Regions from separate parts of the Homo sapiens genome. Here regions 1, 2, 4, 5, 6 and 7 are each linked to region 3. The links are contacts of gene promoters, found by promoter capture Hi-C in blood cells and fetal thymus (Javierre and others, 2016). All regions are on one chromosome and are shown on one strand. Each heading gives the region's core, a stretch centred on a gene start or on the middle of the fragment in contact. The rest is flanking DNA. Distances are from core to core; before and after follow the strand shown. Region 1 has its middle 17 kb from the start of TMX3. Region 2 has its middle 56 kb from the start of TMX3. Region 3 holds the start of DSEL (dermatan sulfate epimerase like). Region 4 has its middle 33 kb from the start of TMX3. Region 5 has its middle 33 kb from the start of CCDC102B. Region 6 overlaps CCDC102B (coiled-coil domain containing 102B). Region 7 overlaps TMX3 (thioredoxin related transmembrane protein 3).

The links. Contacts are between HindIII fragments. The CHiCAGO score rates a contact against its expected background, and 5 or more counts as called.
Region 1: a fragment that was not itself captured here is called in contact with the fragment with the promoter of DSEL in region 3 in 14 of 17 cell types (total B cells, naive CD4 T cells, total CD4 T cells and 11 more); the score reaches 13.5 in total B cells.
Region 2: a contact is called between a fragment that was not itself captured here and the fragment with the promoter of DSEL in region 3, in 16 of 17 cell types (naive CD8 T cells, total B cells, naive B cells and 13 more). The highest score is 28.2, in naive CD8 T cells.
Region 4: a contact is called between a fragment that was not itself captured here and the fragment with the promoter of DSEL in region 3, in 3 of 17 cell types (total CD4 T cells, total B cells and naive B cells). The highest score is 7.3, in total CD4 T cells.
Region 5: a contact is called between a fragment that was not itself captured here and the fragment with the promoter of DSEL in region 3, in 1 of 17 cell types (monocytes). The highest score is 6.0, in monocytes.
Region 6: a fragment that was not itself captured here is called in contact with the fragment with the promoter of DSEL in region 3 in 2 of 17 cell types (M2 macrophages and monocytes); the score reaches 10.1 in M2 macrophages.
Region 7: a contact is called between a fragment that was not itself captured here and the fragment with the promoter of DSEL in region 3, in 5 of 17 cell types (naive CD4 T cells, total B cells, total CD4 T cells and 2 more). The highest score is 12.7, in naive CD4 T cells.

What each region holds. Positions count from the first base shown.
Region 1 is chr18:68,730,496-68,733,195 of GRCh38, forward strand. It overlaps a transcript of CCDC102B not described here. Among named protein-coding and RNA genes, the nearest start is that of TMX3, 17 kb to the left of the region's middle. The HindIII fragment of the contact is 4,512 bases long and covers 1-2,700 here.
Region 2 is chr18:68,657,780-68,660,479 of GRCh38, forward strand. No RefSeq gene overlaps it. Among named protein-coding and RNA genes, the nearest start is that of TMX3, 56 kb to the right of the region's middle. The HindIII fragment of the contact is 9,597 bases long and covers 1-2,700 here.
Region 3 is chr18:67,515,398-67,518,097 of GRCh38, forward strand. It overlaps DSEL (dermatan sulfate epimerase like), which reads right to left and starts at 1,323. Exons shown (of 2, transcript NM_032160.3): 1 at 964-1,323; 2 at 1-95. It overlaps DSEL-AS1 (DSEL antisense RNA 1), which reads left to right and starts at 1,149. Exons shown (of 5, transcript NR_033921.1): 1 at 1,149-1,352. The HindIII fragment of the contact is 6,208 bases long and covers 1-2,381 here.
Region 4 is chr18:68,747,164-68,749,863 of GRCh38, forward strand. It overlaps a transcript of CCDC102B not described here. Among named protein-coding and RNA genes, the nearest start is that of TMX3, 33 kb to the left of the region's middle. The HindIII fragment of the contact is 5,566 bases long and covers 1-2,700 here.
Region 5 is chr18:68,763,821-68,766,520 of GRCh38, forward strand. It overlaps a transcript of CCDC102B not described here. Among named protein-coding and RNA genes, the nearest start is that of CCDC102B, 33 kb to the right of the region's middle. The HindIII fragment of the contact is 4,499 bases long and covers 1-2,700 here.
Region 6 is chr18:68,838,317-68,841,016 of GRCh38, forward strand. CCDC102B (coiled-coil domain containing 102B) reads left to right here. Exons shown (of 8, transcript NM_024781.3): 3 at 390-610. Among named protein-coding and RNA genes, the nearest start is that of CCDC102B, 42 kb to the left of the region's middle. The HindIII fragment of the contact is 2,704 bases long and covers 1-2,651 here.
Region 7 is chr18:68,687,628-68,690,327 of GRCh38, forward strand. TMX3 (thioredoxin related transmembrane protein 3) reads right to left here. Exons shown (of 16, transcript NM_019022.5): 10 at 40-138. Among named protein-coding and RNA genes, the nearest start is that of TMX3, 26 kb to the right of the region's middle. The HindIII fragment of the contact is 8,208 bases long and covers 1-2,700 here.

The DNA.
Region 1 (2,700 bases), core at 78-2,577, 1.2 Mb after region 3:
ATTTTTTCATAATTTCAACAGTGTGACCCACTCATGTAATACTTCTGTCTGCTGATAGATAGATGCAGCTTACTCAAGATAAGCAATTGACTAGAACACTTATGATCTGTTATCATCTTTTCCCTGAATTTTAAAAATGTTAAACATTAATGTAATCTCACACTCGTTCATATACTTAAAGTAGGCAAATCCTACTGATTTAAAAAGTAATAGTAGATTGGTTATGGATGTCTCATATATCTTCATCTGACTGAATGTCACACTTAAGAAGTCAATCCCTTGAGTCAGAAAATGTCTTCTACATGATGTATTTAATACTGAACTGTATTCCGCATCCTGTATCAATATAAGAAAGGTATCAACAGTATCAAAAGGACTGAGTAATAAGATTTCAGCAGAAATATTCTGATATCTTGATCTTCTTTGGCACATTTAAATTAATATTTATTTGGGCTGGTCATTATGGATTTAAGATGTTTATTTTTTAAATTTTATTTATTTATTTTTCTTGAGACGGAGTTTCACTCTGTTGCCAGGCTGGAGTGCAATGGCGCGATCTTGGCTCGCTCCAACTTCTGCCTCCCGGGATCAAGCGATTCTTCTGTCTCAGCTTCCCAAGTAGCTAGGACTACAGACATGCGCCACCACCCCGGCTAATTTTTGTATTTTTAGTAGAGACAGGGTTTCACCATGTTGGCCAGGCTGGTCTTGAACTCCTGACCTCATGATCTGCCCGCCTCGGCCTCCCAAAGTGCTGGGATTACAGAGGTGAGCCACCACATAGATTTAATGTATTTGAGTTAACCATAAGTATTTTTCTATTTTCGATGCTGAGATGATCACAAACCCCTATAATCTAGTTCCTGTGTCCTTTTGATCTGATTCCATTAACCCTTGAATGAAACTTTGGCTTATATGAAAACTTGCACACTCCCTTATCCTTTCCTTCCCCCGACTTGGAATCCGTGATCCTTCCAAAATACCCTGGCTTCTTTTCATGGAAAATTGATTTTTGAGGAACTATAATCTGGACTCTACATTTGCATATTAGGTTGGTCCCATCTGAGGTTCCATTGCCTCAAGGTCATTTTAGTGGCCAGAGGGATAAACAATTTTATATATGTATGTATACATATATAATATAATATAAACAATTTTGTATATGTATGTATACATATATGATATAAACAATTTTGTCTATGTGTGTATATAATATAATATATGTTATATGATCTCCTATACAATAATGCTCATTCAGTTATATATCAGTTGTCAAATTCATTTGGAGCAAAACTCTTCAGACAGACAATAGTCTTGAGATTTTGAAATCTCTGAACACCATTTCTACTTCAGTAAAAGTACAGAAAATTGTACGAATTAGTGCAAGCAAAGCTCTTTTTGGAGGAAATAAATCTTTATTTATTTTTATAAAACTGAACACATATCAAAGGAGAATGGCTTACAGTTATTGAGATTTAAGTTATAGCATCTGCTAAATACTGACTATTTTTCTCACATAAAAGTCCTTTCTCAGTCCTTTGGCTTTAGTACTCTACTCTGAGGAACTTTATTCATGTTGATATATTTTGAGTTACTCAAACATTAAAGTTCAGAAAATGGAGAAGTTAATTTCAGTAAAATACACTGCTTCAGGGGGGAATCTTCAATCTCTTTCCTGTGGGCCAGTTTTTATGGAAGCACAGGGCTTTTCTTCTATCGCCCTGTGTATTTTAAATTATTTCTAGTATTTCTATGGTGGATACCATAAACTGTTTGGTTAATAATAACCATAGCTTGAAGTCTTATTCCTTGAAATGTGTATCTGGCATTTCTTGAAGGCCTTCTTTTTTTTTCTCTCTCTCTTTTTTGGGATGGAGTGTTGCTCTGTCACCCAGGCTGGAGTGCAGTGGCGTGATCTCAGCTCATTGCAACCTCCGCCTCCCAAGTTCAAGCAATTCTCTGCCTCAGCCTCCCGAGTAGCTGGGATTACAGGCACCCACCATCATGCTCAGCTAATTTTTTTTTATTTTTAGTAGAGACGGGGTTTCACCATGTTGGCCAGGCTGGTCTTGAACTCCTGACCTCAGGCGATCTGCCTGCCTCAGCCTCCCAAAGTACTGGGATTACAGGCATGACCCACAGCGCCCGGCCTACTTGAAGGCTTTCTACAGAAATGTCTCATAGTGATCTTTCTTTTGTAACCCTCACCTGCCTGCAGACAACATGAATTCATCTATTTAGAGTTAAGGTTTTCCAGTTTTCTCTTAAAATTTTTAGGATACCATAGTTCCCAGATCTATGTATTAAAAAACTATGATTTTGAGTCATCCTTGCTATGCCAGTTACAAGTTTTACAGACCAGGGACCATCATGGCTAAACATCCATCGCACAAGTGTGGAGCTCCCTTCCAGATTCCTGGGCTGCGGACTTCCATAGACTGATTTAGCCTAGGGACAAAATAAAGACATCCAATGTATAAGGAGAACTATATGAAAAAGAAAGATAGAAAAGTTGGTGGGGAAGGTTATGCTAAGGCTAGAGCGACTCAGAGAAAAAGTAGACTCAGTTAATGATCTTTATGTAAATTCGCAAGTCTTTCTGAACTAAAACAGCTCAGAAATGGAGCCAAAGCCAACCACATCAGCCCCAAGCAGTGAAGGGGATTTAATGAGGTGGGTCTGAAAGAATAGTACCAAGGA
Region 2 (2,700 bases), core at 60-2,559, 1.1 Mb after region 3:
GGAAAAGAAAATGAGATCCTCTTTTGCTGAAGTTGGGTTACTGAACTGAGAGTGAATGAAATCCTGAAAACTGGCGTGAGAACATGTGGAGAGATTCTGATTAAACTGGGCACCTCGAACACCGAATCCCACCGAGCACCCTTTGTTGGTAGAAGCAGCTTTCTCAACTCTGTGCAGAAGTTTGTCCTCTTTGGCCAAAAACACCTGTAGTTACCTCCTTCCTGGAGGTAGTTGCCAACAGGCCCCAATTTATGAAAATTTACGTGTGACCAGTGAGGAGGTATAAGGCCAACTGAAAGAATGGCATTATTTTGCCCATTCATATTGACTGAAACCCAAGGGTTTGTATCAAAATATAAATAAATCCTAAAACCTAATAAGTGAAGGATAATCCAGTTTTTTAATGGGCAAGGGATCTGAATAGAAACTTATCTAAAGAAGACAGACAAGTGGCCAACATGCACATAAGAAGATACTCAAATTATTAGTCACTAAGGAAATGCATATCAAAACTACAGACGACATGTTATACCCTTTAAGATGATTAAAATAAAAGAGACAAACAATAAGTTTTGGCAAGGATTTGAATAAATTGGAACCTTCATACAGAATAGGTTAAAGTTTGCCTAGGGCTGGTTGGTGAGGGATGAGGAATATAAAGAAAAGGGAGTGACTGCTAATGGGAACAGGGTTCCTTTTGATGTGATGAAATATCCTAAAATTAGGTAGTGGTTACAGTTACATAAGTATGGGAATGTATATAAATAAAACAACAACACTGTGCAATTTAAAAGGTTAAATTTTATGGTATATGAATAAAGCTGTCTTTAAATACAGCTGTCTAAATAAAGGTCTAGGGATATTGGAATGTTAGTGTGGATTTATCAAGTATGACCTGCTCTGGAAAGACCTAGAAGACATATCTTTCCTCACAGCTGTGAGAAATCAACTCAAGGGGGAAGCTCCAGCATTTTTGAAGAGTTCTCTCTTCTGTAAGTCGGAAATCACAAGGAAACTGCTACACTGAAGTGGGCTCTCTACCCAAGAGAAGGAATGGGATTCCAGGATGGCGGAAGCTGTTGGGAGCTGTTGGAACAAAAGAATCCTTTCTTTCCCCTCTGGAGTTTTAATATTTGAGTCTGACAGAAAAACTGACAATAGACCAATTAACAGGAAAAAGGCAAACACATTTATTATGTGCACGGGGGCATCACAGGAAGCTGAGGACTCCATAACAATGGAATTTGGAAGGCTATGTGCCCTTCTTCATCGGGAGAAGGAGTAGAGGATGAAGACATGTTAGAGGGGGAGAAAATAACTTTTAGAGCAGATGAGTGGGCCTGGAAAACAGACAACCATCTGGTACAAAGTCATCTGGACTCTAGGTGTGGTGTCAACTGTAGTCTTCTTTCTGTGATATGCCTCAGTCTCACCCTGTTGATAAGACATCTGGGGAAGGGATTCACAACAATTGACTATGTTCTGGAGGATCTGGCCTTTAGTAGATGGGAATACTTCAGGGAAAGCCCATCCCTGCATTTGCTGTTCCCTAGGAGCTCTCATTTTGAAGTCCAAAGCGGCATATTTAAGGGGATTATTAATATTTCCTGAGCTCCAACAGAGCCAAGTGAGGGCACTTAGTCACTGAAGACAAGGTGAGTTACTGGAATGGCCAATTGTATAACGTCTGATAGTCAAACTAGAACTGAAACTGATGGACAGTCCAGTGAAATTTTACTTGGCCTGATTAAGCGGAAAAGCTGTAGTCTGTTGAACTGAAGTCTGAATTGAATAACCAAAATGAGAGTCATGTCCCTCAATTAATTTACATTTCATACACTCAAAGCCGCTGAAATGGCTGCCCTGTGCCCAAATTCTTACCCCTGAGGCAGGGTGAAGAAAGCCTGAAGCCATCCCATTGAAAAAAAGACACTGCTGCATAGCAAAACAAAAATAATTTACACCTGCAAATCATCCTCTTTATGATCCCACCCAAGGACTCAATCTATTTAACATAATGACAGCTTTGGGTAAGAAAAAATGATCAGATCTTGAGGAATTATAGGATTTATTTCATGGTTCTAAACTGACAATACTTCCTGTGGTCACCGGTCAGAGTAGGAAATTGTGGCTGTCAGATAACTGATGGAGTGTTAGCTGGAGTCTGCCTCACAGTGGGCCACCTTCTGATTATTTTCCTAGCACCAGAATGGTTACAGCATCTGCAAATAACTTGCAGAATTCCCGTGTGTACCTGACCATGGAGTGAAAAGAGAGCAAAACGGAAGCCACTGGAACGGCCCCTGCCTTTGACAATAGTAAACCCAAGGTAGTACACATTCCTGGAGTGCAGAGATTGTTGCCACCATCAAGGACTCGAGAGATGCAGGGGTGGGGATTCCATTCTATTCATCTATTTTGTCTGTGTAGATAGCAAATGGATATTGGAGAATGAAAGCCGATTATTGAAAATTTAATCAGATGGGGACTCCAGTTGCAGCTGTTGTTCCAAATGTGGCTTTGCTAGAGGAAATTCACACATCCCCTTGTATCTGGCATGTGACTATGGACCTGGTGAGTACTTTTTCCCTCTATACCAGGAAAACTTGCAAGCTGAATCCAGCCTGTATCCTATTTTTGAAGAGCTCTTAAGCTAAGAAAGGTTTTTACATTTTTAAAGAGTTAAAACAAACAAACAAA
Region 3 (2,700 bases), core at 73-2,572:
CTCGTCCGATCATGAAGTAACCGCCAACGGGGAAAGAAAATTCCCCTTTCAGCAACAGTGAGGTCTCTCTTCTGCTCTTTTTTCATGACACTTTTCTGGGGATGGGGGACAAAATAAAAATTCTCTGAGGCTTCAGGTATGCTGAGAATGAATATAAACTGATGACTTAAACATTCTGCAATCACTTAATAGAAATTTTAGAATCACAGTAAAATCTCATATTATCTGCAACCTAAGCTAGGGCAAGTGATTTTTTTCTTATCCATTTACACGCACTTATTTGGAAACCAGTGACCGTCAGCAGAAGACAAGCAACTAACAATACAAAATATACAAGATAGAACTCTCCCGACAATATCTATAGTTTAACGCCACTAACGTGGCTTCAGTCACTTAAAAAATGTTTGTATTCAAATGCAGTTTACACAAAGATGAGTCCTGCTATCCTTGTTATTTCTTGTTCCCAAGGACCGAGGGACAAAAAACTGAAAGTTGAAAAGATCTTTTTTTTTTTTTTTTTTTTTAATTCCGGGGGAAGGTTTAGAGTTCATGGGATCAGAAGGTATCTTCCTAATGAGAACTACTCGGACCAGTCACTTTTCTCGGCGGGGTAACCGCGAATCGTGACCAGGCGCCAAGCCGAGGGGCGGGAGCTCCGCGCTCGGCGCTCACCTGTGGCCGAGTCCCTGTCCTCAGGTGGAGCCGCCAGAGGGAGCTCGGACCCCGGTGTCGAAAGACGCCTCTCCGTGCCCGTCCGCGGCTGGAAGAACCTAAGCAAGTTTCAGTCTTGGACAAGTCTCCCCTCTGTAGGAAACATTCAGGCTAGGAGTTTCCTGATCCGCCCCGCCTGTTGCATTTTTTCACTGGCGTCCTCCGACCCTGCCGCCCCCATTCTCCGCTCCCCGCTCTGGGGCTGAGTGAGGCAGGATGGCGAGAGACCCCTGAGCCACCAAGTCCGCTTACCTCAGGCAGATCCCGACGGGGGCTCGGCGCCGCACTGGGCCCCAAGGGAGACGGAGGTGGAGAGTTCCAGAAAACTGCTCTGCACGGCGGGCCAGGCTCCCGCGGGGCTCCGCAAGACCCCCGCGTCGTCTCCCGCGCTACGGCAGGCGCTGCCCCAGCTCGGTCTCCTCAGCCGCGCTCGGTCCCCGCGACCCGCACGGCCCGGACACGCCCGCCCTCAGGAAACGCCGGACGCTTGTGGGGGCAACCACGGACCGCAGGACAGAGACCCGCGGGCGGCGGGTTCTCTCGGTGGCGCCGTATCCAGAGCAGCGCCCGCGTGCCCAGGCGGTGATGTCGCCGCGGCCGAGGATCCTCTGTGCCAGCTCCGGCCGCGCAGCCCGGGGAGGGTGAGACGGCGACGCGGGCCGGCAAGCGGGGGCGGGGCGGAGGCAGGACGGGGCGGGGTTGAAGGCGGGGCTGAAGGCGGGGCCTCAGGGAAGGCGAGAGACAGCGACGCTGGCTGGCGGGCGTGGGGCGGGACGGAGACAGGACAGGGCGGGGTCAGAGGCGGGGCTTCGGGGAGGACGGGAGGAGCCGTGAGCAGGCCGGCGGCGGGCGGGGCGGGGCCGAAAGCAGGTGAGGCGGGGCCAAGCGCCCCGGGTTTCTAAGCGGAGGAAGCTCTAGGCGTTTGTGTTCTGGGCTTGCAGCGGTGGCCGCGCGCTCCCGGAGGAGTCGAGCTGGAGGAGGGGACAGTTTGGGAGTGCGAGAGTCTAAAGACGCTGCCAGGCTGGCGTTAAAACCTTTTGGTTATGGGAAGACGACAACTATATAATAGAGCCATAGTGGGGGCTGTGGGATTGACTCAAATGATGGGAGGAGCTGGAGTGGGAGGGGATAAGCCCTGGGACGACAGAAATCATCCTTTTGGAAAGAGCAAGGGCTGGGGAAGGAGGGAATGAGCACTCCCTTGGAACTGAGAGGCAGCCTGGCTGAGCTTGCTGTCCTTTGGAAAAGCAAAACCGAAATACCCAGATTAATATAGGAGGACAACTTCTGTAGCCCAGATGCTAACAAAGATCAAGGGAAAACAGAAAAGACTAATCAGCTTTACTGATGGAAAACAATTTCTCAGGCAGTATAAATAGGGGAAGCATGGGACAAACAAGTAGAAGGAGCCTCTTATTTAAAAATGGGACCTGGTATTCGGTAAAGACCTACATGCAGACAGGAGAAGGCAGTGTGCCCCGGCTACTACGACATGTGAGTGCAGTGCCAGGTCGTGGAAATCCTAGAGCAGGCTGGGACTCCTGTTGCACTCCACACATGGAGCTTCTCACAGATAGCTGAGATGACACTTTGGCATAAACCAACCCAAGCTCTGACCTCAAATGTAAAAAATAATAGCTTAGTAGTAATAAAAATACAGGGAAATATCAAGCTTCACAAATGAACAATTCCATTCTCAGTTGGGGATTAGTAACACATTCAGTCTCTTCATTTCCCATACTATTTTGGTAATATTTAATAAGATATATTTTAACATTTTAAAAATAAATGTCTTGCTTAGATCATTTGCTGCTGAAAATCAAACAGTAGACGACTGCTAGCAGAATAAATTTCAAATCATTTAACTTTGAGGTGAAATGTGGCCTCTAACTCCTCATCACTCTTCTGTTTTGGCCCCGTAGTAACCCCTAGCCCAGTCCAAATAGCCACACTTGCTTTTGCTTGGGTGCTTCAGTAACTATGCTTATT
Region 4 (2,700 bases), core at 173-2,672, 1.2 Mb after region 3:
ACTAGAACTCATTCCTTCTATCTAATTGTAAGTCTGTATCCATTAACCATTCTTTTCCTGTTCTCTTTCTCTGCTCCCCTTCCCATCCTGTCATAATCAGTATTCTATTCTCTACTTCTATGAGATATTTTTCTTTCTCTCCCACATATGAGGGAGAACACAGAGTATTTGTCTTTCTCTTCCTGTCTTATTTTACTTAACATAATGTTCTGCAGGATCATATCCTGGAAACAAACTTTTAATTTTAAAGTGCATAATATAGTATTGTTAGCTGCAGGCATGGTGTTGTACAGATTTCTAAAATTTATTCATCTTGCCTAACCTAAACTTTATACCCATTAAACAACAATTTTCTATCTTCCTATCCCCATCTAGCCCCTAGCAACTGCCATTCTATTCTCTATTTCTATGAGTTTGGCTATTATAGACACTTTATGTACATGGAATCATGCAGTATTTCACCTTCTATGACTGGTTTATTGCACTTAGCATAATGTACTCCAGGTTCATCCAAGTTGTCACATATGGCAGGACCTTCTTCTTTTCAAAGCTGAATACAGTGATACATCATTATATGTATATATCACATTTTTTCCGTTCATCTTGCAATGGACATTAGGTTGTTGGGTGTTGGCCACTGTGAATAATGTTGCGATGAACATGGGAGTTCAGATGTCTCTTTGAGATCTTCATTTTAATGCCTTTAGTTATATACCCAGCAATGGGATTGCTGAATTGTATAGTAGCTCTATTTTTAATTTTTTGAGAAACCTCTATTCTGTTTTCCCTAGTCATTTCACCATTTTAAATTTCCACCAACACTGTTACAAGGGTTCCATTATCTCTATATGCTCACAAATGCTTGTTATCTTTTCTGCTTTTGGTAATAGCCTGACAAATGTGAGATGATATCTCATTGTGGTTTTGATTTTCGTTTCCCTGATAATTAGTGATGTTGAGCACCTTTTCATATACTTGATGGCCATTTATATGTCTTCTTTGGAGAAACATCTATTTAGGTACTTTGTCCATTATTAAACTGGTGTGTGTGTGTGTGTGTGTGTGTGTGTGTGTGTGTGTGTGTGTGTGTGTGTTTGCTATTGAGTTGTAGAATTCCATTATATAATCTGGATATTAACCCCTTGTCTGACTGCCTGAACTAGAGTTCCAGATACAATTGAGGATTTTCTCATTGTATGCATCCTGATGAGATTAGACCTGAATATAAAATCTACAGCATGAGCAAACAGGATGAGTGCTAGGCATCCATTTTACTAACTGGTAGTTTTGTAGTCAGCATGGTGGCAGAAATTTCCTAATTTGACAGTTTCAAACAGCTCTTTTCCCAACGGAGTAATTTTCAATTCTTTCATCAGCAGTAGGGATAGCAACCTCCTCTATCAGCAACTTCTGGCAGCAATGATAGCACATTACCCAAATGCTTTGTAGGTAATATGTTCTGGAGTCATTCCTGGAAACATAGCCTAAAGCCGAGTGCTTTAGCCCTTCCTGTTTTACAAGCTATTTAATATGTAGTAAGACATCCCTTTTTCAACCTAGCTAAAGCAGATTCTGTTTTCTGCAATGGAACTCTAAAGTGTAAATTATTTATGTAGTAAAAGTATAACAACATGCGTAGGATGATAAACTCCAAATAACCCAGAATAGTGGATTTGACTGGCAATGTGTGGCAGAGAAAAGCATAGGAGGGAAATGGAATAAGAATGGGACATGCATGGTTTTAGGTCTAACATTTAAGTCTTTAATCCATCTTGAATTAATTCTTGTGTAAGGTGTAAGGAAGGGATCCAGTTTCAGCTTTCTACATATGGCTAGCCAGTTTTCCCATCACCATTTATTAAATAGGGAATCTTTTCCCCACTTCTTGTTTTTGTCAGATTTGTCAAAGATCACATGGTTGTAGATGTGTGGTATTATTTCTGAGGGCTCTGTTCTGTTCCATTGGTCTATATCTCTGTTTTGGTACCAGTACCATGCTGTTTTGGTTACTGTAGCCTTGTAGTATAGTTTGAAGTCAGGTAGTGTGATGCCTCCAGCTTTGTTCTTTTGGCTTAGGATTGTCTTGGCAATGTGGGCTCTTTTTTGGTTCCATATGAACTTTAAAGTCGTTTTTTCCAATACTGTGAAGAAAGTCATTGGTAGCTTGATGGGGATGGCATTGAATCTATAAATTACCTTGGGCAGTATGGCCATTTTCACGATATTGATTCTTCCTATCCATGAGCATGGAATGTTCTTCCATTTGTTTGTGTCCTCTTCTATTTCATTGAGCAGTGGTTTGCAGTTCTCCTTGAAGAGGTCCTTCACATCCCTTGTAAGTTGGATTCTTAGGTATTTTATTCTCTTTGAAGCAATTGTGAATGGGAGTTCACTCATGATTTGGCTCTCTGTTTGTCTGTTATTGGTGTATAAGAATGCTTGTGATTTTTGCACACTGATTTTGTATCCTGAGACTTTGCTGAAGTTGCTTACCACCTTAAGGGGGTTTTGGGCTGAGACGATGGGGTTTTCTAAATATACAATCATGTCATCTGCAAACAGCGACAATTTGACTTCCTCTTTTCCTAATTGAATACCCTTTCTTTCTTTCTCCTGCCTGATTGCCCTGGTCAGAACTTCCTAGACCTAAAACCATAAAAACCCTAGAATAAAACCTAGGCAATACCATTCAGGACATAG
Region 5 (2,700 bases), core at 184-2,683, 1.2 Mb after region 3:
CTCTAGGTATTTCTTCCATGTGAGTATAATAATAGAGTAACTGTGGCTTATAAAGTAGCCTTTTCCCCCATCATCATATAATAATTACCCTTTGTTGAATGCCATGTGCCTAAACAATGCATTAGAACCTTGATCATCGTTGCTTTCTATTCTCATAGCTTCATAAGAACTCCATTACCCTTACTTTTTTTAATCAGGAAATTGAGAGAATTTTCTCAAGATTAGACAGATAATGATGATGACAGCTGGGCTTAGATTCAAAATCTTAACATTCAAAAGCCAAGGATCTTAAGTACTCTTTGTTTGAAATTTGATTCACTACACTCTTGCCTCCAACAAGGCAACATTTCTTGCTGTCATTTCCTTTCTGTTATTTCCCTTCCGTATACTTTTTTCCAATGGATTTTATTCCAGCTGCTCCATATAACACTACTATGATTACTAATAATAACATCATGCTGACTCCATAGAAGAGCATTGCATGGCGACTCACAGTTCTTTGAATGTATTATTCCAATTTATCTGTGCAACAACCCTATGAGGAAAGTTTGCATGACTTCTAGTTTTACAGATAAGTAGCTAAGGCTCAGAGAAAGTAATTCAGTTTTTCAAGATTACCCAGTTAGTATATGGCAGACTCAAATTGTATTCCAGGTCCTCTGATTTAAATTCCAAAGTTCTTTATTTCACAATAGCCAATTATTATAAAGATAAAAACATAAACAATAACCTTCAAACTACTTAGGGATGTGAGGCACCACCAGGCTAGCAAATTCTTGGTTATAGGCAGACTTGTAAAGAATGCCAGTGTATCTCTTATAACATTTTTGACCTCCAAATATTCAAGAAGAAAATGTTAGCATTAAATTTATTATTGTTGGGTTAGCTAATTTACTACAAATAAATTTTAAAATATCCATCAACACTTTCTAGCCTAGAATTTATTTGGCAAGTGACATAATAAGAAAATAATGGGAGACCAAGGCAGGCACATCAGTTGAGCCCAGGAGTTTGAGACCAGCCTGGGCAACATAATGAGACCCTGTCTCTAGCCAAATAATAATGATAAAAAAAAAAATAGCTGGGCGTGGTGGCACGGATCTGTAGTCCCAGCTACCTTGGAGGCTGAGGTAGGAGGATCACCTGAGTCCAGGAGTTCGAGGCTGCAGTGAGTGGTAATTGTGTCACTGCACTCCAGCCTGGGTGACAGAGTGAAACCCTCTCTTAAATAAATAAATAAATAAATAAATAAATAAGCTGGGGATGGTGGTGCATGTCTGTCATCCCAGCTACTCTGGAGACTGAAGTGGGGGGGATTGCTTGAGCCCAGGAATTTGAGGCTGCAATAAGCTATAATAGTGCCAACACACTCCAGCCTGGGTGTCAGAGTGAGAATTTGTCAAGAAAGAAAGAAAGAGCGAAAAAGAGCTAAAGAAGGAGGAAGGAGAGAAAGAGAAAGAAAGAAAAGAAAGAAAGGAAGGAAGGAAGGAAGGAAGGAAGGAAGGAAAGAAAGAAAGAAAGAAAGAAAGAAAGAAAGAAAGAAAGAAAGAAAGAAAGAAAAGAAAGAAAGAAAAGAAAGGAAGGAAGGAAGGAAAGAGAAAGAGAAAGGAAAGAAGGAAGGAAGGAGAAAGAGGAAGAAAGAGAGAGAAAGGAAGGAAGGAGAGGAAGAAAGAAAGAAGAAAGCAAGAAAGAAAGAGAAAGAAATAGAAAGAGAAAATAAGTGGAAGCCAAAGGGACTATAGTAATTTTTAAATTTACATAATCTATCTCCTTATAGCCCCTTTTGGAATCATTCTGTAGATTTGCTTATACCATTATATACATCAGTAACATTTAGCAAGAACAAAAATTAATTGACATTGGAAAAAGTGGAAAACATTTGCATCACGGTGATTTGTGTACAGGGTTATTAGCATGGCTTCTCAGATATAATCATTACTTAATATTCTATCAACCATATTTAATATAACATATATGATTCTTAGACTTATTCTGATGTAACTCATACTTTTTCTTTCTTTCTTTCTTTTTTTTAGTTTTCTAGACCCAGCTGATGCACATGTGTGACTCTCATGATTGCTAGTGAGATTTTCAAATGTAATCATTATCTGGAATGTTATGTCTTTTAAGGACATAGCAGTTTTGGCTTGTTAGGAAAGACTGAAAATCCAATTGAACAAAATTTTCCATAAAAAATTTTAAAACATATTAATTCATAGGAGATAAGAATTAACCATAGATACATTCAAGTAGCAATTTAAGGTGTCAATTATTTTGATTCCTATTTTTGCAATGTCTAAGTTTATTCTTAAATATCATAATACATGTATCTATCTTTCTCTTTTCTTAGAATCATGCAGTAAAATAGAGATGGGTGATTAAATAACTCCTAGGACAAAGAAGCAAGATTAGAAATAGGGCTACTTCTGCTTCTGTGGTCCATTAGCAGACAAAGTGCTGTATAAAAACAGTAAAACAAGGACTACATTACTGAAATTTGAGGAAAGTAACACATCCTGCATCTGACCCAGTGATATGTCCATATATCATTCCCTAAAATCAGGTCTTACAGTTTTTAGTTAATCTTTGCAAAAATTCCCGAGAAATGTGCAGGTTTAAGAAGTGGAAATTCTTACCCACGTCAAGTGTGGGATGAGGACAATGGGTTGGCAATGGATGGACAGTGCTTAAGTATTCGTT
Region 6 (2,700 bases), core at 50-2,549, 1.3 Mb after region 3:
ATGTTAAAAAATGATTGCTTTGAAACTGTAAGTGTCTTATGACAAAAGAAACTTGAAAGAGGAATTCATCAACTCATTAAAAATTATTTACAGCTGTTCAAGTTTGTGCAGAGTTATTTTTAGCTGCGATTAGAAAAAGAGAACAAACAAGAGTTAAAGCAGAACTTTTGAGAAATGTATTTTTTTTATGAGAAAGTAGAACATAGAAAAAAACAAGCTCAAAGAAGAATGCAAGTAAGTGTGGCCACACAACACTTTCAGGGAATGATAATGAAATAAAAATATGAATTGGTTGTGGTATCGTAACATTTATTTCTTTATGAAAATGTTTTGTCATCATGATTTTTCTCCAGGAGGTTTAAATATGTTTTGTTTTGTTTTGTCTTCAGGAACAAGGTGTGGTTATTGATTCTCTAAAATTAAGTGAGGAGATGAAGCCCAATCTAGATGGTGTTGATTTATTCAACAATGGTGGTTCTGGAAACGGTGAAACGAAAACTGGGCTGAGACTGAAAGCAATAAATCTGCCTTTGGAAAATGAAGTAACTGAAATTTCAGCTTTGCAGGTGCATTTGGATGAATTCCAAAAAATCTTATGGAAGGAAAGAGAGTAAGTGCTAATCATTGTCTCCCTTAACCAAGTCTAAGTTTCAAATCACTTAAAATTGTTAATACAGATAGATTGGTCATTTGATAATGTATTTTATCCATGTTTAGTCATTAAGTTTTAGGATTTAAAGAAATTAGTTTGATATATATTCATATGTTGAATTTTAAAATGTAGTTTATAACTTGTTAGTGTTTTCCATTCTTTTAAGTTGACTTTTATCATGACTATGTTTTTATCTTCTCTGGTAGATTCACTTTAATTGTATATGAATTCTTAATGTACAAGGTTAAAATATCCAGTGTATTATTTAAGTTTGACAGCATCTTGGACTTGGTCAGTAAAAATGAATAAATATGTTAATATTAATAGTGGAAAAATCACAATTTTGTGAGATATTTATTACAGAAAAAGTAGTCTTATACATGGACCATTAAGGGCATCAGGCTTTTGCTTAATTGGCCTGGATATTCATCTTTGGTCTGATGTCTTCTAGCTATGTGATGTTGGCTGTTGCCCCTTTGTGAAAATAGCTGTAGTGCTGTTATGTTCCAGTTATCTATTATCTTGAAACAAACTTTTCCAAGTAATTATCATTAAAACATATCAACAGCAACCACCCTGTCTTCTGTTCAAGAATCGCGAGCATGGCTTGGCATGGACATTGTATCTCTCACTTGTGCCTTCAGTTGCAAGGGCTCAAAGGCTGGCAATGCATGGAAGGCTGGGGGCTGCAGCCTCTTTCACTCATATCTGGCAGTCCATCTCGGTTTTCATCTATGCCTCAGTTGGGACACCTGCACTGGGGCTATTTAAGGGGGTGCTTGGCTTCCTCACAACATTGGGGCTAGGTTGCAAGTGAACATCTTAAGAACACAGAGAGAAGAAAACGCCATTTGAATGATTCTGCCTCAAAAGTCAGACCCACTTATCGGTGGTGAGAATCTCAAAGTCTGACTCAGATTAAAGAGAGAGAGGCACTTTCAATGGAAGGAGTGTGAAAACAATTTTATAATAAGGGTGTGTGGGATGCAGTCATTGTGGCAACGATCTTTGCAAAATACAGTCTGTCATAGCCTTTCTCAGTGAATTCTCATAAAGATCAAGAACAAATAACATCTGGGAAAGAGAATAGTAATATGAAATGTTCAATATGGATTTTCGTTTCTATGCAATCAGCTTACAATTTTATTAGCACAATGTGGAATATCTAATATATAAATAAGGTTCCAAAATCTAAAAATAATTATTTTTTATCTCTTAGTTATAAAAATCTTAATAGGCAGAACCAGAAAAGCAAGAAGGATATGTATGCATATATACACACAATGTATTATATAAGTATATATTATATAACAGTTTTAATTTTCCTGGCTTGAATGGACTGAAATAGGGATAAATATGCATGCTAGCCATTCACAAATACAGTAAGTTCTTTACCACTTACTTTCTGCCAGAAGTTTCTCATTAGTCCCTCTGAAATTTACTAGTGCCACCAATTCCCTTTTTCAGATTCTTCATCTGTATTTCACTAGATTAGTAGATTGTGATCATACAAGTATCTATGTACAGAATAAATATTTATTACTCTACCAAGTGTAAATTCCTAATAGAGGCAACCAACATTAGTAGAAAACAGAATAAAAATGAATTTAATTTTTAGGCTCGTACACATAGTGACAATTTTATCTAGCCCTATACATTTCAGTCACATTCTAATCTCCGTGGTTTTACTTCTTGAAGCATTTAACTTTTTGGTAATTATAGACTTCTCTCCAGCCCACATACAATATTACTTCCCCAGTGCAGTCTAATAGGAGCAATGCAGAGCTGTGTTTTTCTAGATGTAAACTTCTATTCTAAGGTGTCAGTTTTAAAGATATGCATGTTCTGTCTTAACACGCTTATCCATATACATATACACAACATATACTTTTTACTTTCTTGGAATAAATGAACAATTCTCAGAGTAAGTACATTCTGCAGTTCTCAGTGACTTCAGTCTATAATCCATAGACAGGCCAAAGAATAAGAGAAAAAAGGAAGCTTTCCATGGCTTTGTCTTCCTACTCTCCTCTTTTAAGAAACAATCC
Region 7 (2,700 bases), core at 5-2,504, 1.2 Mb after region 3:
TCATGTAACATAATGGAGACTTGTACATATGCTTGTTACCTGTGTCTCCAAGTTCATACAAGAGGAAGCCATCCATAGCAAGGTAATTCTGAAACCTTTCCCTGTTGATCCATGATGACAGATCACCATCTTCATACTCTTAAAACCAAGACAAAGTTGACAAATTACAGTATAAATATGAATTTAAGAGTTATAATAGCTTTAATCTGATAATAGGTATAAAACGCCTGACAGAGAATCATACTTCCATAAATATTGTTTTTAGGAATTTATTGCAAGCATACAATCAAATGTACAGAAGGATTAATGCACAAAGCAATCTTCATTATAGCATCATTAAAAATAGCATAAAAATAATTAAAAATAAAGGAAATAATCAAAATATCCTAAATTGGAAATAATTTAAATAAATTTTGGTATATGTCGATAAAGATCATTTATAAATTTTCAAAAAAACTTATAATTGAACAGATTACAAAACAATACAGGTTACAATACAATACATAACAGCATAACTGTAACTTCGTAAAAGAAAGTATGAAAAGATAAACTCATAGAATGATAAAATGAAGTCAGTTATTCCTAAATGGTTTCCCTGAATCAATGGTTATACTTGGGTCATGGCACTACAGGTAATTTTTATTACAATTTCTTTGCTCTCCTCTCTTTATGATAGTCTTCCTAGTTTACAACTCTTTCTCAAAGGTACAACTAACACAAACACATATAAAATCATAGTACCTTAGCTTTTTTCCAATATAAAATAATTCCTCTGCTAAGCAGATAGAAAATATAATATCTAAGAGAAATATTACATCCTAATTAGAAATGTAATTCTCAAGTAATTGTTCAAAATTATTACAATTGCATAAAAAAGGTGGTGATGTAAAGCAAATGTCTATAAAAGCCTACCAATACATCTGGTTGAAGAATGGATTTTAATGACCTCTTCAAAGGTATGCTTTTTCTTGCATTGCTAAACAAAACATTTTCAAGTTATCAAACCCATAAAATAAGTGATGCAATGCAAATCTCAAAGAATTTATTGATTTAAATTTATAAATTAGGAAAATAAACATAAAACTAGAAATTGATTACTGGGCCACAATGTCCACTGCATGCTAAAAGCAAATTTTCTACGAGATTGCATACAGTGATCAATTTGAATTTCATTCGAAAATAAACTATCCCAAATATCGCAAGTTCTCATTTATAAGTGGGCGGTAAACATTGGGTACATACGGACATAAAGATGGGAATAACAGACACTAGGGAGATGGGGAGGAGGACAAGGGCTAAAAAAACTACCTGTTGGGTACTATGCTTATTACCTGGGTGACGGGATCATTTGTACCCCAAACCTCAGCATCATCCAATACACCCATGTAACAAACCTGCACATGTAGACTCTGAATCTAAAATAAAAGCTGAAATTATATATGTAAGAAAGGAAATATACTCCCAAGTCCCTATTCCAATGCTTCTAAACATTAGCAACAATTAAATATTTAAATAAGGATTCAAAGTAAAGCCTTTGCTTTGTCTGAATGTTTCAGGCAGGTTCTAAATACTACTGCAGGTTAGAGAAATGGGGCCTTTACAATACCTACAGAAACTTAACATATCATATTCCTGTCTTCCTTAAGCGTGGGAGAATGTATCTGAAACACTGAGCTATAACAGGGGGATGCTTTCCTAGGCAGGCTCAAAAACCTGATATCTGTTTATATTTAAATATGTTTATATTTAAACAGATATGATCAGTGTTTTTTTTTTTTTAAAGGAAGAAACAAAGTGCCTCTCTGAATTGCTAAGAAACACATAGTGGAATAAGAACATGAGATTTGAAGACTGAATTTTGATATCATTGATTATTTTATCGTGGAAAAAAAATCTCTTTAATCCTGTTTCTTTATCTGTAAAATGGTAAGAATAGTGATTTTAAGGGAATGTTGTAATGATCAAATATAAGATCACATACATTAAGTACTTATTATATGAGGAGTACTGCAAGCAAAGAGCAGGTGAATAGACTAGGTGTGGCTACAAATTATTTTCCTTCTCATATTTTCAAATACACAAGTTTCTCTGAAGTTCTTTTATAAGCCCAACGTCTAATACAGACATTCAATAAACATCCAATTAATGGATGGCTGAATAAGCATATGATAAACCTGCTATTTAATTACACACCTGTCTCCTTATCTAACATTCTTAGCTATATCCTTTGTAATCCTGGGGTATTAATCTATCTGCCTTATTACCTACCTCACAGATTACTTTGTAAATAAAATGAAAATGTCAAGTATGTAGATAGTACCTTTTATATGACAGCATAAGTGTGTAGTTATTATCTATAGAAACAAATAAAATTCAGCTCTCACATTTATTTAAAGACAATAAAAATCAGAAATGTAGTCTTATGACTGTCAAAACAATTAAAATGCTACTTATAATAAAACAAATTGTTCCTTTTTATTGAAAAGTCTTCTACTCATTTGAATTATTTCAGCAATTAAAACTCTACTGCTCTCATCTAGTCCTAGGTTCCTTTCTGTCACATAGAATTCAGTAAGAAAAACACATTCTAGAATATTTCTGAATGAATGGGTGTTCCCTATCTGGCCTCCAACATGGTAACCACAAGCCACAGGAGCCCACCGAGCACTGAAACACAGTTCGTGAGAACAAGAAATTGAA